Linked DNA regions of Homo sapiens: region 1 is linked to region 2. Evidence: promoter capture Hi-C in 16 types of primary human blood cells and fetal thymus (Javierre and others, 2016). All regions are on one chromosome and are shown on one strand. Each heading gives the region's core, a stretch centred on a gene start or on the middle of the fragment in contact. The rest is flanking DNA. Distances are from core to core; before and after follow the strand shown. Region 1 overlaps HEATR5A (HEAT repeat containing 5A). Region 2 holds the start of COCH-AS1 (COCH antisense RNA 1).

The links. Contacts are between HindIII fragments. The CHiCAGO score rates a contact against its expected background, and 5 or more counts as called.
Region 1: a contact is called between a fragment that was not itself captured here and the fragment with the promoter of COCH-AS1 in region 2, in 1 of 17 cell types (erythroblasts). The highest score is 5.3, in erythroblasts.

The regions. Positions count from the first base shown.
Region 1 is chr14:31,354,645-31,359,171 of GRCh38, forward strand. It overlaps HEATR5A (HEAT repeat containing 5A), which reads right to left. Exons shown (of 36, transcript NM_015473.4): 15 at 4,250-4,413; 16 at 3,993-4,168. Among named protein-coding and RNA genes, the nearest start is that of HEATR5A, 64 kb to the right of the region's middle. The HindIII fragment of the contact is 5,963 bases long and covers 226-4,527 here.
Region 2 is chr14:30,887,689-30,892,332 of GRCh38, forward strand. It overlaps COCH-AS1 (COCH antisense RNA 1), which reads right to left and starts at 2,120. Exons shown (of 5, transcript NR_038356.1): 1 at 1,696-2,120; 2 at 1,455-1,567. COCH (cochlin) reads left to right here. Exons shown (of 12, transcript NM_004086.3): 12 at 1,928-2,930. The coding sequence ends at 2,103. The HindIII fragment of the contact is 10,353 bases long and covers 1-4,644 here.

The sequences.
Region 1 (4,527 bases), core at 1,957-4,456, 470 kb after region 2:
TTTGAGTCTAGATGGAATAAAAGTGCAGTTAACTGAATAAAGGGTGAAGATGTAACATTTGAAAATGTTGATTTATTTTACATTATACATTTTACATTATAAACCCTTTAGACAGGGGGTACACACAGTATACACAAAACAGTAACCACAAACAAAAACAAAATAATACTTTTTAGAGGGTATATAATGGCAAAATTTTTTACTACTGAGAATTATAACTGTTTAAGCTTTTCCTCTCTGTCCATCCATTCCCAAGTGACATCATTTGTTGAAGCAGTCCATTTATCACAATCACCTAAGGAGTTTAAAAACTTTCAGTGCCCACCACCATAGTATGCATACCATACTAATCAGGATCTTCAGTATCTTAAAAATTTGCCTGGATAATTCCAATGTGCAAGTCAGGGGTGGAACAATCCTCAGGTGAATTAATCAACTCATTCTTTGCAATTAGATGAAAATCTATTTAAAAGCAACCACAAACGCAGGCCAGGAGCAGTAGCTTACACCTGTAATCCCAGGACTTTGGGAGGCTGACGGGGGCAGATCACCTGAGGTCAGGAGTTCAAGAACAGCCTGGCCAACATGGCGAAAGCCCATCTCTACTAAAAATATAAAAATTAGCCAGGCATGGTGGCGTGTGCTGTAGTCCCAGCTACTCGGGAGGCCGAGGCAGGAGAATCACTTGAACCTGGGAGGCGGAGGTTGCAGTGAGCCGAGATGGTGCCACTGCACTCCAGCCTGGTTGACAGAGCAAAACTCTGTCTCAAAACAAAACAAAACAAAAAATAAAGTAACCACACACAGGCTGGGCATAGTGGCTCATGCCTATAATCTCAGCACTTTGGGAGGCCGAGGAGGGCGGATCACCTGAGGTCAGGAGATTGAGACCAGCTTGGCCAACATTATGAAACCCCATCTCCACTAAAAGATGCAAAAATTAGCCAGGCATGGGGGTGCATGCCTGTAATCCCAGCTACTTGGGAGGCTGAGGCAGGAGAATCACTTGAAACCCAGGAGGCGGATGTTGCAGTGAGCCACCGCACTCCAGCCTGGGCTGTCTCAAAGAAAAAAAAAGTAACCACAAACAATACATGATTGAGATCAATATTATTTCTTTTCTGTATAAAATATCTTGACTTTCCAACCGGTAAACATTTTTACGTTAGAACCCTACAGTCAGAATAGAGAGAATCAACTAATTTAAAAGACAATTACATATGCATTAATAAATTGTGCATTAATTTATATTACGTAAGTATTATTTCCAACCTTAGGACAACCACATGTTACACAACTGTTTAAACATAAGGCTAACCACAATAACAACAAAATGGCTTGAAATATTCGGTTGCTGTTTAAATTTAGATACTTTAATTAAGACCTTTCTTCTCTAGAACTCAAATGTAAGGCCAAAAAGCAAACAGCCTGATATTTTACATAAATATCATATCTGGCATAACAGGAAATTAGAAACTTAACTTCCCTATTCATGTAGTTTCTATCTTCTGGTTCTGTAACGACACCTACTGGAGACTGTGGATAACTGCTTATAACCCACTTTCTGTATCTGGGATCTTGCCAGGCCACTTCTTTATAAATATATTTTTGAGACAGTGTCTTGCTCTGTTGCTAAGGCTGGAGTGCAGTGGCGAGATCTTGGCTCACTGCAACCTCTAACTCCCAGTATCAAGCGAACCTCCCACCTCAGCCTCCTCAGTAGCTGGGACTACAGTTGCACACCACCATGCACAGCTAATTTTTTTATTTTTGTAGAGAAGGAGTTTTGCATGTTGCCTAGGCTGCTCTTGAACTGTTGGGCTCAAGCAATTTGCCTGCCTTGGCCTCCCAAAGTGCTTGGTTACAGGTGTAAACTACTGTGCCTGGTCACCTACTATTTTTTTTCCAAAATAGTTAGAATCCTGTTTGTTCCAAATTTGTTAGAATCCAAACAGAATGATAGGGTTTGCTTTTATCTGTTCTCAATGTTTTTATCAAAACAAACAAAATCTCCCCTTCCTTGAATATTCATTATTATTATTATAACTTAGGTGGGGATACAAAAACTATGAGCACATTAAAAAATTCATTAAACTTAGTAAGAAAGGATCTTCCTGAAACTGCAATTGGGCAATAAATCCGAAAAGAAAACTTCTCTAGAATAGTAAAATCACTTTTTTAAGAGGAAAGGCTGTAAAAAGTATATTTTCTTTTTTGCTTTTCCACCTTAGACCCATCAAAGATAGTGGAACCATTTAAGAACAGGCTTAATTTAAATCCTTTGCTTAAAAGGCCAGCCCTGTTTCATCCACAGTAGTTATTGGTATATTAATCCAAATTAATTATTCTAAAGTAATTATATGCTCTATAAAAAGGCAGTTACAGACTAGTTCAAATTTCATCCTCTCCATGAATCTTTCTTTGAATATTCCAAACCACTGTAATTTTCCTCTTCATTCATTAACAATTCAGTCATATATTCTCTTATCACCATAACCTTATAGTTACAGTATTACAGGAAATGCTACAAATACATTTGGAAAAAACACTATCTTTTGAAACTGAAGCTAGTAAAAATCAATATAAATTTCATTCACTTTTCTATGCAATGAAAGCACATCATCCCAAGACCTGTTTCAGAGAGGTGTTGGTGATGAAATTAAAATATTTTTCTAAGTCTTCACCAAAGAGATAAAGGTAAATTGTCTAACTGGTATCCTCTGGAAGATATAACTGGATAAGAAGATATAATAAAAGCTATGATCTAGTCAAATGCATGGTTGTTGGTCGAGAGAGAGGAAATGAATGAATGAATCAGTGCGGATGACAGTGATTTGTAAACTATTATTAGCCACAATAGCCTATGAGAGAGATTCACTTCCCATTTCGTTTTTCAGATAGTAACAAGAATTTCCTGGATAGTGGATTTTGATGCCTGAGAAATGTATATGTCCAGTTACTAATTAAGAAACTATCATTCTCAATGAGAAATCATTATCACCCTTTGGTTTTTCAAAACCAAAGTCCATTTTTTGGGGAGGACATCTTGTATTTATTAATTTTTCACATACAATAGCATAAGATGGAAATCCCTACATAGTATGAGGTATACAACATGATGTTTTTAACGAGGCTTTGCTCATATATACATTGTGAAATAGATTACCACAATCAAGTTAATTAAATATCTATTATCTTTGTGTGTGTATGTGTGTGTGTTCTAAAGCAGGGGGGCCCCAACCAGTGGGCCACGGACTGGTACTGGTCCACGGCCTGTTAGGAATTGGGCCGCACAGCAGGAGGTGAGTGGCGGGCAAGCGAGCATTATCATCTGAGCCAAACTCTTGTCAGATCAGCAGTGGCATTAGATTCTCACAGGAGTGTGAACCCTATTGTCAACTGTGCATGTGAGGGATCTAGGTTGTGCACCCCTCACAATGCCTGATGATCTGAGGTGGAATAGTTTTATCCCAAAACCTCCTCCTATCCCTACGCCATGGACGAACTGTCTTTCGCCATACTGGTCCCTGGTGCCTAAAAGGTTGGGGACCACTGGTCTAAAGTTCATTTTAAGTGAACTGATAAAAACCATTTAAAATCCCTCCAACTGAAGACAAATCCCTGGACCTTTAATGGTTCCAAAAAATTTCCAAGGTAAGAAAGCCTATGAGACCTAGTCTAAGAAAAAACCTAGTATGTGTCTTTGTAATGACTGCTCATAAATCAGTATCTTATGTCATTATTTTTCATTTGTATTTTCAGCTAGATGATAAGCTGTGAGCAAAGTATTGTATCCACAACAGTTCTAGTGGTTTTAGGCATTTAATCATTTCTTATTAAGTATTAGCCAAGTGAATAATTAAACAAAAACTTATATTTCACCTTCACCTGTTATTTATAAGAAATCATTTACGCTAATGAGATCTCTGGCAACATTCTTCTTACCCACCAGTTCTCTATTATCCATTCACTGAACCATTGAAGATATTTACCTTTGAGTTTCTCCCACATGAGCGCATACAACCCCAAAGAGCTTGGATGCAGAACTAATAACTGATAGTGCTGGAGGTAAGGGCTTAGGCACTGAATCTCCCTCTACATCTTTCTCATAAATCGAATAAGGGTCATATTCAAGACTTCCGCAAGCAACACCATTACCAAGCAGGAGCTAAAAGGGAAAAAAAGTATATAAGGTTTTAAAATCACTGATCACAGATTGAATCTAATCAAGAGTAAAAAATGGCCATACCTGTTCTTCAATAAATCTATGGTCAGTCTCTTGTAGGAAAGGACTTAGTATCAAAAGATCATCCTGATGACAGAGGGGTGGAAGTAAAAATGTAGATGCTGCCACCTGAATATCAGGGGCAGTCAAGTCAGCAGCCAGCTCTCTGAGGATAGCACAGAGGTTTCCTGTTGAGTCACAGAAAAAGAGCAATTAGTACTATTAATTATCTGGTGAGAGTATGGGATTTAAAACTCAGGTTGAGCTTTAATGCACCCACTGGCCAACTTTAACATATCACA
Region 2 (4,644 bases), core at 870-3,369:
CCTAATGACATAACCTTTTTCCTTTCTACACATTAGTACCTCTGCCAATGTACTCACATATTTTTACAGATACTGATGAAAGATTATTCTTAAAACAGAGAACACATGCAATTTAAGTTCCACATCTAGCTTGTAAAAAGTATTTTTTATACATCAGCAACTAGCCTGTGAAGTAAAGACCTGTTTACTATCATATTCCTTAATACTTAGCTTACTGAACTTATAGTTAACAGGATTGTATTCAGGCTATAAAGTGATTAGGTTGATTAAAGTTCAGGAGGCTGGACTACACCAATATTGATTCGTGAAAATTATCCCTTAGTGATATTGAAAGTTGCAAAAGCCAGAAAATAGGGTAGGATTTTAGGGGTAGATCACAACAGTTTTTATTTATTTTCAGGGTCTTGCTCTGTCACCCAGGCTGGAGTACAGTGGTGTGATTATTTTTTTTTTTAACTGTAATTATATGCTGGGCTTGAGCTAAACAATCTGAACTAGAATGTAGAACTGAAAAGAAGTGAGGAAAACTGAGGGGGAGGAAAAAAATATTTTGACTTTTTTTTTTTTTAACCAGGGAGTGAGAGTCAGGAAAAGGAGACTGGAACAATTGGACATTGTTCCAAGTAGCTTTTACATCATCTAAACCTGCTGCATATCTTAGGTATTTACCACTCTGAGCACTGTATACCACTAGAAGGGGAATGAAACCTTAGATCTGTAGAGGAAAACTATTACAGAAACTCCAAAAGTTATAGAAAATTGCACCCAGCATTAGATAGATGGTACTCTACACTAAGAATCTGCTAAATGAGGCCAGGTGTGGTGGCTTATGCCTGTAATCCCAGCACTTTGGGAGGCCGAGGCAGATGGATCGCTTGAGCCCTGGAGTTCGAGATGAGACCAGCCTGAACAACATGGTGAAACCCCATCTCTACAAAGAAATTTAAAAATTAGCTGGGCTTAGTGGCATGCGCTTGTAGTCCCAGCTATTTGAGGATGGGGGTGCTGAGGAGGATAGTTTGAGCCCAGGAAGTTGAGGCTGCAGTGAGCCTTGATTGTACCACTGCACTCCAGCATGGGCAAAAGAGCCAGACCCTGTCTGAGAAAAAAAAAAAAAAAAGATTAAATGAAAACTTCTACAATTGGGATTGGGGTGAATCCAACTAATGTATTATTACCCTAAATGTACAGTTGTACTAAAAGCCTTCTAGTAACTAAAGTGAATGGAAATAGAATACCTCAATGAAACTGGAAGAAATTACTCCAGTTTCATAAGATCCCTCTTGGGCAGTACTTTTTAGTCACTAGTTTTGCTTTGGGATTATAGGCTGACATTTTCTGATTATTAGACAGTTTGCCAATATAAAGATTGAAATGGAAGAGGATTTTTCATTATCAGAGGACTAGTCACCATTCCTCAAACAATGCAACCTTTGAACACTTTTGCTATTTACTTATCCCATCTCTTGTGCCATTCTTCCTTGCTTTAATGGATTGTGACTCTGACTCCAGTATACTGTTTGATGCAGGCCAACCTCATACGGAAAATTTTCACCATCCGCATTTACTGTAGGATTTTAAAAAAGATACTGTGGATCAGGTTAAAAGTCTTCTTCTATTCCTAGTTTATAGGTGTGTTCTGTCATTAATGGATATTGAACTTTATCAAATTATTTCTTATCAGTGATGACTTACCTGTTAATGTGGCGAATTACAGATATAGCAGAGTTTCTGGTTTGGACCACTCTTTTGCCACTCTCGTCACAATGACTGTGAAAACTTAATTTGTTCAGGGGATTTAATTGTCCAGAAATTAGTAAGCAGTTTTCGCTGCAACTATGTAACAGTGTATGGAAAACATATAGACATAATTCCATATATTAGCTAGACCTGATTTTCAATTCACTTTAAAATGTTTTCATTGTAGGAATCACTATCTTCTCTGTTGGTGTGGCTTGGGCACCTCTGGATGACCTGAAAGATATGGCTTCTAAACCGAAGGAGTCTCATGCTTTCTTCACAAGAGAGTTCACAGGATTAGAACCAATTGTTTCTGATGTCATCAGAGGCATTTGTAGAGATTTCTTAGAATCCCAGCAATAATGGTAACATTTTGACAACTGAAAGAAAAAGTACAAGGGGATCCAGTGTGTAAATTGTATTCTCATAATACTGAAATGCTTTAGCATACTAGAATCAGATACAAAACTATTAAGTATGTCAACAGCCATTTAGGCAAATAAGCACTCCTTTAAAGCCGCTGCCTTCTGGTTACAATTTACAGTGTACTTTGTTAAAAACACTGCTGAGGCTTCATAATCATGGCTCTTAGAAACTCAGGAAAGAGGAGATAATGTGGATTAAAACCTTAAGAGTTCTAACCATGCCTACTAAATGTACAGATATGCAAATTCCATAGCTCAATAAAAGAATCTGATACTTAGACCAAAAGCAACATTCGTTCTCTAACCATTCTGTATTGATTATATAAGCAAAATGAAAAGAGAAACTTAAATGAACACAGCTCTTTAACATGGTTCAGGTACACATATTTTGACCCAAGTGGATATTTTCTTAAAACCAATCAATAATAGCTAGCTATTACTGCAGACTATAAAATCTGGATATAGAAAGGAGACCTGTATCAAACTGCTTTTGTAGTGTGTTTTCATAACAACTTATGACTAAAAATATCACACTGAATAAGAGAGCAGGATTGCCAGGTATTTTTCTATTTCTCTCCTTAATTTTATATGTATATAGATATATTTGGCTTATATTCTAAGTCACCTAAGTACTTAAAAGTTAAGTTGGTAAAGTATTTACTGACTGCTTATAAACATTTAAAGACAAAGACATTTCAAATAACTGCAGAAAAAATATTGTAGTTTGAATATTTAAGCAATAAAACTGCTAGTGAGTTATTGTAAGCTGGCTTACTTTTATTACTGCTAGTGTCTCCCCTGAGGATATGGTAAAAATTCATGTGGAAAGACCAATCTGAATTGTTTTTTAAATCATGTAATAATACCAAGAATATTTTTTCTTTGATTCAATTATTTATTGAGGCCAAGCACAGTGGCTCATGCCTGTAATCCCAGCACTTTGGGAGGCTGAAGCAGGAGGACTGCTTGAGGCCAAGAATTCAAGACCAGCCTGGGCAACATAGTGAGAACCCCCTCTACAAAAAAGAAAAAAAAATTAGCCGGGTGGGATGGTGCATGTCTGTAGTCTGAGCTACTTGGGAGGCTGAGGTGGGAGGACTGCTTGAGCCGAGGAGGTCAAGGCTACAGTGAGCCATGATCACACCACTGCACTCCAGCTTGGGTGACAGAGCAAGACCCTATCTCCAAAATAAAAAAAAAAATAAAAAGACACAAGTTTATCGAATACCTACTGTCCTAGGCATTATACACAGCCACTACCTGATTAAACAGTATAAGATATTTTTGAGTACTTGCTTCACCAGAAATGTTTTGTAATTGACATCATTTTTTACTTAAAAATGCTTGTGAAGTTGGTTCCTATGAAAGGAGAACATCAGGACTCCCTTAATGTGACTTAGATGATTCGCTTACCAAGGCCTCTCCCAAAAGACAGAGGTGCTCTATCATCCCACCTTGTCTGTCTTTTCTAAAGATAGGTCCTATCTCCTCCTCTCATCCACCTAAGCCCCCTGAAATGTGTTAACTGGTTAGAATAATATACTCCAGTAAATCTTCTGAGTCTTACAATTTTATACCCTGCATAAGAGGAATAAAAGGACTACATGCAGGGAGAAACAAACTGGAATTGACTTTTTCACTACATAAAAATTTGAATTTGAAAATAGAGTTTGAGAAGACAACCTCCCCTTTTATAAAATGCTTCAAACATGACTGAATCATGTAACAGGGATAATTTTAATTAAACATCATAAAAACTGGGTTTAGCATAGTATGATTTTTCCCCAGTAAGTAGACCAAAAACTCTCAGCTAGGAGTACAACCCCTTGGAAAATTAAGCTCTAATGAAAACCCAGCTACCACTCATTAGCCCTTTTAAGAAAGTGGTTTTTTCTTTAATTTTATAAAGGACCAAGTTTTGAGTCACCTGAAGTAACCAGGGAATAGCAGCAAGACAGCAGAAATCAGAACTGTAGGTTACTATCAATAATTATGTAAGTAAACATAATCAGGATAAAGGTTATTTACAGGAGACAGAGTAAAAAGGAAATACGTATTACAATCCAACTTAAGCAAACATGCTTAGATTTCAAATATGCTGGCCCATTTATAACTTAATGCATTAAATGCAATGTTAGTCTTCAACAGGTAAGTTACCTAGTTTGAAATAATGAGAAAAACAACATGAAATGAGAGGCAGAATATGATTAACTATTGAAGAAATCAACATATTAAGATTTGTATAAAGTACTATTTAATAGTGAAATTAATCTAATTTCCCATGTGTCAAATGGAAGCACACATAATGAAAATAAGACATTATTTTTGCATACCTTTAGTCTCTTCCAAATGTTTAATACTGCAGAGAAAAATACAACCAAAGGAGATAGAACAAAATAAACATATATACTAATTTTTATCCATTTCAGTTTTAATACATTCCAAAATACGTCAATGTTTATGCATTCCAATAATCATC